Regions from separate parts of the Homo sapiens genome. Here region 2 is linked to region 1. Evidence: promoter capture Hi-C in human tissues and cell types (Jung and others, 2019). All regions are on one chromosome and are shown on one strand. The core of a region is centred on a gene start or on the middle of the fragment in contact, and the rest is flanking DNA. Distances in the headings are between cores, read along the strand shown.

Region 1 (3,616 bases), core at 1,117-3,616:
ACCTCATAGTCACTAGGAGTGGTGTGGTCCGGCAGAGGGACCCATGCTGACGTGGTGTGTCACCTTCTCAGTGGATGTTTGTGTGTGATTATGCATGCAGCCTCATTTAGAGATCCAATAGACATCTAAGTAGAAGACCTCCTGGGCACCACCACCATTGCCCTCCATCCCCCAATGGGAGGTCCCCTGAGAGCCTCAGGTCCCAAGATTCTGCTCAAGCCAGCTGCTCCTGCCCAGGGAGTGTGGCTGGGGGGCAAGAAGGGCAGGAGTCAGGCCTCAGGCTGGTCCCACCCATCACCCTGCCTCTGGCCCACCTGGCGCCCCTCAGAGGGCTGAGTCTCACTCTGCCACTCTCACTAGAGGAGGGAGCACTCTGCTACCCTCCCTGCTTTGCTCCAAATCAGGAACACAGTATGATTATTATACAGTATGATTATTATAATAACAGCAACTATTTTTCAGAGCTTACTCTGTGCCAGGAGCTCTATAGGCAGCCCTCTGTATCCTTGGTTTCTGTGTCCATGGATTCAACCAACCTTGGATTGAAAATAATTTTTTAGGCCGGGCGTGGTGGCTCACGCCTGTAATCTCAGCACTTTGGGAGGTTGAGGCGGGCGGATCACGAGGTCAGGAGATCGAGACCATCCTGGCTAACACGGCGAAACCCCATCTCTACTAAAAATACAAAAAAAAAAAAAAAAATTAGCCGGGCGTGGTGGCGGGCGCCTATGGTCCCAGCTACTTGGGAGGCTGAGGCAGGAGAATGGCGTGAACCCGGGAGGCAGAGCTTGCAGTGAGCCGAGATCGTGCCACTGCACTCCAGCCTGGGTGACAGAGCAAGACTCCATCTCAAAAAAAAAAAAAAAAAAAAAAATATATATATATATATATATATATTTTTTTTTTTAAATTGCATCTGTGGGCCGGGTGCAGTGGCTCATGCCTGTAAGCCCAGCATTTTAGGAGGCAGAGATTGGAGGATCACTTAAGGCCAGGAGTTGGAGACCAGCCTGAGCAACATAGCGACACCCCATCTCCATTAAAAACAATGTTTTAAAAAAATTGCATCTGGGCAGGGCGCAGTGGCTCACGCCTATAAGCCCAGCACTTTGGGAGGCCCACATGGGAGGATTGCTTGAGGCCAGGAGTTGGAGACCAGCCTGAGCAACATGGTGAAACCCCGTCTCTGCTGTAAATACACAAATTAGCTGGGCGTGGTGGTGGGTGCCTGTAATCCCAGCTACTCAGGAGGCTGAGGCAGGAGAATCACTTGAACCTGGGGGGCAGAGATTGCAGTGAGCTAAGATCGTGCCACTGCACTCCAGCCTGGGTGACAGAGTAAGACTCCATCTCAAAAAAAAAAAAAATTGCACCTGTACTAAACATATACAGACTTTTTTGGTGATTACCTCCTAAACAATACAGTATAACAACCATTCACACAGCATTTCCGTCGTATTAGGTATTATAAGTAATCTAGAGATTTAAAGTATGTGGGAGGCTGTGCTTAGGTTATATGCAAATACTATGCCATTTTATATCAAGGACTTGAACATCCATGGATTTTGGTATCTGCAGAGGGTCCTGGAATCAATTTCCCATGGAGACTGAGAGATGACCGTACTACCCACTTCGCAAGCAATGTCTTCTTTAATGTACTGAACCATCCCATTGTTCAGAGGAGAAACTGAAGCTCAGGGCTTTGAATAACTAGACCAAGGAGGCACAGCATGGGAGTGGGACATGAAGCACTCTACAATTAACCCTTTCAGGACAAGGCCCTGTCTCCCACACCCATCTGCCCAAAGGCTCTCCAGGGCCCCCTCCTCTTGGGTGTACCTTGACAAGAGACCTAGATTTTAGCTCACTATGCTGTCTGCAGTCCTGGATGGTCCCACTCCAGTGTCTGGTGCTCTGAGATGGAGTCAGCATTAGTGGCGGATGTGGAGACTGGGGGGACCTGTCTTCACTGGGGTAGACAGAGGAGATGTGGACTTTGCCCCCCATGAGCCCGGCACAAACCCAGAGCCGCCAGCAGGGCCTCGAGGCATCAGTCCCGGGCTCATGGGCTCCCTGAGGTGTTTCTCCTACTGTTTTCCGTTCCCCTCCTCCCTTCCATGCTGAGGTTGGTGGGGTGGGGGTGGGGGTGCCCACGCACGGAACAGCCACCACTTCTAACTATCGCCTGAGCCCTGATCTGCTGTCAGCTTCCACGTAGTCTCAGGGTCACAAAAGTCCAAGAGGCCTCTTGGGAATGTGTCACCTTCCAGCGTGGAGTCACACTGAGGAAGGAGGAGGGGAGGGCAGCCAGGGGGGTGGCGATAGGGAGAGAGTTTAAATGTCTGGCTGGCTCTGAGCTTCAGTCAGTTCCCACTGCAGCGCAGGTGAGCTCTCCTGAGGACCTCTCTGTCAGCTCCCCTGATTGTAGGGAGGATCCAGTGTGGCAAGAAACTCCTCCAGCCCAGCAAGCAGCTCAGGATGTTCCTGAAGGCCGTGGTCCTGACCCTGGCCCTGGTGGCTGTCGCCGGTGAGTAGAAGCTGTCTTTGGATGGCACTCCTGGGCTGCTGCTCTGAGTAGTGCAGGATGGAGGCTGAGCCAAAGCAAAAGGACACTTCTGAGTGCCCATCAGCCCCCAGCTGGACATGAGGTCTGCCTGGCTGCCAAGTGGCTCACAGGAGAGCTGGCCCAGTCCCAGTGGTGGGCCCATTGGCATTGGTGCTATACCAGTTTCACATATCCCTGTGGCTTCCAAAAAGCTAAGCTCAGACAGGGAAAATGGCAGGTTGAGGCACCCCCACCATCATCCAGTCTGCAGCTCAGAGCTGGAGCAGAGGGGCCACACAGGAGACGGGGCCTCATGAATTGCTCTCTGTTACCACCCAGGAGCCAGGGCTGAGGTCAGTGCTGACCAGGTGGCCACGGTGATGTGGGACTACTTCAGCCAGCTGAGCAACAATGCCAAGGAGGCCGTGGAACATCTCCAGAAATCTGAACTCACCCAGCAACTCAAGTAAGAGGGACTACAGTGTGCGGTGGTGACGGGGAATTCTTAAAGGCCATGCAATGTACTGGCAAGGGTTGAGCTTAGAGACAGGAGCCCTGAGCTTAGGATACCCACTGCCCTGCCACTAACTGGCCGGGCCTCTGAACCTAGGATCCACATATGTAAACCGGAAGTTTGGACCGAATAATCCCTGCCATGTCCTTTTGCTTTGACGTTCTAGAGTTTGACAAATGGCCACATCCTATCATTCAGGCTCATGGAAGAGAGGGAGGGAGGAAAATGTCACGTGAGCTGATTTCTAATACGTTTCAGAAAGACAGGCCCCAGTGGAATCAAGGGGAGGGAGGTGGGAATATTTGGGAGGCCCCTGGGCACAGGCAAGGAAAGCAGCACCTTGTGCCACTGGAAGACCCCAGCAGAGGTCAAGAAGACAACATTGTGTTACACAATGTGATCCTATGGCCCAGAACACTCCCTCTGGGAAGGACCTCAAAGTCCCACCCTCTGCAGACAAGGAGGGGAAAGCAAACTGCTGGAGGTGACATGGTGGGTAGATTCTGAGACAAACTATGTGGGAGATCCTGAGATAGAAATTCAGCATCGTAACTTAG
Region 2 (4,020 bases), core at 758-3,257, 57 kb after region 1:
TAAAAGCAATGCATATTTATTACAGAATATTTGGGAATTAAAAAAAGTTTAAAGTTTTTAAAAGAATAAACACTTGCATGTTACCATCCAAAGATAACTGCTAATACTTGGATGCATATCTCTTCAGGTTTTTCTCTTTAGAGATTATACACGCTTGTATTTTATTTTTTTGAACATAATTGGGATCATATTGTACATAGGGTTTTGGAGTCTACTCCTCTGCTAAATAATATGTTGTGGATACTCTGGTAAGACCTTAAAATATTCTTTGAGTGTATGATTTTTAACGGTTATGTAGTAGTTCAATATATATATTTTATCTGTTCTGTTACTGGATACATGGATTGTTTCCACTTATAAAATATCATACATCGTTGTACATAAATCATTTGTAGAAATCAGTTTATTTCTTTATTCCCATAAAATGAAATGAGTGGATCAAAGGGTATGGTTCGCTTTAGTTATATTCCCATGTTGCTTTCCAAAAGGTGCTACCAATTTACACTCCCACTAGAGGTGATGAGAATGCCAGTTTGCCTACGTCGTCAATATTAGAGCACTATTATTATTATTATTATTATTATTATTATTATTATTATTATTTTTGAGACAGGGTCTTGCTCTGTTGCCCAGGCTGAAATACAGTGGTGTGATCATGCCCCATTGTAGCCTCTACCTTCCAGGTGCAAGCAATCCTCCTACCTTAGTCCTGCACGTAGCTGGTACCACAGGTGCGCACCTCCATGCCTGGCTAATTTTGGGTATTTTTTGTAGAGATGAGGTCTCTGTGTTGCCCAGTCTGGTCTTGACCTCCTGGGCTCAAGTGATCCTCCTGCCTAGGCCTCCTAAAGTGTTGGGATTACAGGTGTTAGCCACATGCCCCACCAATATTGAAGGATTATTAACAAAACAAAACCAATAGCAAACCTATGCTGATTTAGCAAGTGAGTAATGGTATCCAGTTTCTTTTTTTTTTTTTTTTTTTTTTGGTGGAGTCTCACTCTGTTGCCCAGGCTGGAGTGCAGTGGCGTGATCTCGGATCACTGCAAGCTCCGCCTCCCGGGTTCACGCCATTCTCCTGCCTCAGCCTCCCGAGTAGCTGGGACTACAGGCACCTGCCACCATGCCTGGCTAATTTTTTGTATTTTTAGTAGAGATGAAGTTTCACTGTGTTAGCCAGGATGATCTTGATCTCCTAACTTCATGATCTGCCTGCCTCGGCCTCCCAAAGTGCTGGGATTACAGACGTGAGCCACCGTGCCTGGCCCAGTTTCTTTGAACACTAGTGAAATGAATCATTTTTTATATGTTCATTAGGCTTATGTTGTGGGTGTATTTTATCATTTGCCTTTTCACTTAGTTCATAATTGTTTTTATTATTTTTTTTTTTTGAGACATATTCTCACACTGTCACCAACGCTGGAGTGCAGTGGCTCAATCTTGGCTCACTGCAGCCTCTGCCTCCCAGGTTCAAGTGAACCTCCTGCCTCAGCCTCCCAAATAGCTGGGATTACAGGCGCCTGCCACCATGCCCAGCTAATTTTTGTGTTTTTGGTAGAGACGGGGTTTCACCGTGTTGCCTAGGCTGGTCATGAACTCCTGGGCTCAAGCAATCCACCCGCCTCAGCCTCCCAAAGTGCTAGGATTACAGGAATGAGCCACCGCACCTGGCCATTTTCTTTTATAATATTGTCTTGCTTTTATGATGGCCCAAAAACCTAAACAAAGGAGGCTTTAGTGCCACTGCTCTCTGCATTGGTTAAAACAGATCTTGATTACTGAATTCATTTTTGTAACTGCAAGATCACCACCACCACCAGTAATAATGGTAAAACGATTATGATGATTACGATAGCAGTGGCAGCACAGGAATAATTAATAGGTGTCATTTATTGGGCATTTATCATGTACCAAGCATGGCTAAGCTTACGTGAATTATCTCATTCAATCCTTATAGCAATCCTTTGAATCCCACTTTTACAAATGAGGAAATTGAGGCTTAGAATAATTTACCAAAGGTTACACAAATGCTAAGTGGCCGAGCTGGGGTTTAGATCTTAATTCATCTTGCCCGAAACCTGTGCTTTTAACGCTCAGTGAGAGATCTCAAAACTGGGTTATATGAAGAATGATGGTAGGATTTTGGGAGAAGTAGAGGGCTATTATGACCTGGATTTAAATTCCAGTTCTGCCACTTGTTAGCTTGTGACATTGAGAAAGTTACTGAACTTCTCCGAATCAGTTTGCTATTCAGTAGTGTGGAGCCTTTCTTTACAGGATTATTGTGAGAATCGAGTTAGATTATATGAGTAAACCACAAAACACAGTACCTTGCACATAGTTGCTACTCTGTAACTAGGATTTATTATGCCAGCAATCTTGAAAGTTTGTCATGTGGACTTACATCACAGGTCAGAACTAGAATGAATTCAAAGAAGTTATAGGAAGGCAGATACGGTACTAGTAAAACTAAGAACTTTCTAACATTTTTGAAAAATGCAGTGGACTGTGTTGTAAGATAATGAGTTCCTTGTCAGGAAGGGATTGGGCGAGTGACCACTTATTAGGAATACTATAGAGAAGATTCTGATTTGTTCAGAAGTTTAGAAGATATGAAATGTGGTTTTAGCTCTTAAAGATTAATGATTCTGTGTACATCTCAGTGGCTCTTTTTGGTTGTATTCAAGAAAACCTATCACTGTGACTACCTACAACAAGAAAGGATTCATAGAAACCCAAAGTCCTTGATTAGTGCTAGGCATGATGGGGGGAGCCACCTATGTTTCCACTGTTAATGTAGAAGTAAAAGTGTAAAAGGAATTTAGTTGTTAGTTTACAAGTGGCTGTTGTGTACCTAGCAGGTTAATAAAAAGGTTTGTAATGAAAAAAATTAACCTTTGCAGGGTAATTGATTAATTAGAGAAGGATCTACAATTAAACCAATACAGTGACAATCAGATGTTTATGGAGCAAACATAACTGAAGACCCCTACTTACTTCTTCATGACCATTTTGGATATATGTACGCCCTTGTGTTAGGAATCGGAATGGTTGTAACTTCAGGTTCTTGAGACAGTGCTTCTTGGCTGGATCCTGTGGATTTCCTAAGATAGGAAATCTTTACTCTCACAGGTGGCAGAGTTTGTGGATGAGCGGCCAGAAGAGGTAAAGCAGATGGAGGCCTTTCGTTCCAGTGCCAAATGGAAGCTTCTGGGAGGTGAGTTCCAACAATAGATAAATCTAAATTTCCATTAGTAGGGGAGATCTTTTTTCCTTTTCTATACTTTTCTTTAGAGGAATGCATAGTTTGTTTTAGCATGTCATTGATCCTGAAAAATAAAGCAGGAAAAAGGAAGTTGGACTTCTTCAGAGGTAGTAAGACATAGGAACTTATAGACCAGATATTCCTCTTTCTCTTATATTTTGGCATTAGGATTACTGAGGTTGGTGACTAATTTGGAGGCCTTTGAGCACCCATTCCTCTTTGACTCAGAATAGGAGAGCACTTGGTGTATAGGCAAGACTTTGGGAGGAGTTTACAAGAAACAGGAGCAGAATTTGGGGACTTTAGCTACCACTATCCTCTTCCACAATGAAGCAACTCATTTCTGGGGGGTCAAGGACCAGTGTATTTTGTTCTGTTTGTGTTAGTAAATTTCTCTCTTCTTTCCTTAAGTATTGGTGTTTTATAGTGCATTACCCTCCACTTGCCCACTTTGGACTCTTCCTAAGCTAATAATCTTAATTTAACTCTCTTTAAAAAAATTTGAGTCCTTGAGAATTGGATAAAAAGCATTTGTTTGTCACATCTGTTTGAGCATAGACTAGTCTTATTTGCCATGATATTCCCCTATCTAGCACAAGGAGCTACCTTTAATAAATATTTGTAGAATTGTTTAATTGCTAGTAGGTATTTGATTTTTGTAGCCTAATCAGAATTCTTTTCCAAAGAGAATCTTTTGGTCTCCATGTCTGTTTGTCTAGGAAGACACACAGACACACACATACACACGGTGCCTT

What was found. The method cuts DNA at HindIII sites, captures the fragments that hold promoters and counts their contacts. A contact is called where the count stands out against the background at its distance.
Region 2: a fragment that was not itself captured here is called in contact with the fragment with the promoter of APOA4 in region 1 in 2 of the 25 tissues and cell types used here (dorsolateral prefrontal cortex and stomach).

Annotation. Positions count from the first base shown.
Region 1 is chr11:116,822,054-116,825,669 of GRCh38, reverse strand. It overlaps APOA4 (apolipoprotein A4), which reads left to right and starts at 2,366. Exons shown (of 3, transcript NM_000482.4): 1 at 2,366-2,527; 2 at 2,885-3,011. The coding sequence starts at 2,479. RefSeq lists enhancers at 1-157, 12-378. The HindIII fragment of the contact is 11,668 bases long and covers 1-3,616 here.
Region 2 is chr11:116,764,559-116,768,578 of GRCh38, reverse strand. BUD13 (BUD13 spliceosome associated protein) reads left to right here. Exons shown (of 10, transcript NM_032725.4): 3 at 3,133-3,217. Among named protein-coding and RNA genes, the nearest start is that of BUD13, 6.4 kb to the left of the region's middle. The HindIII fragment of the contact is 6,710 bases long and covers 1-4,020 here.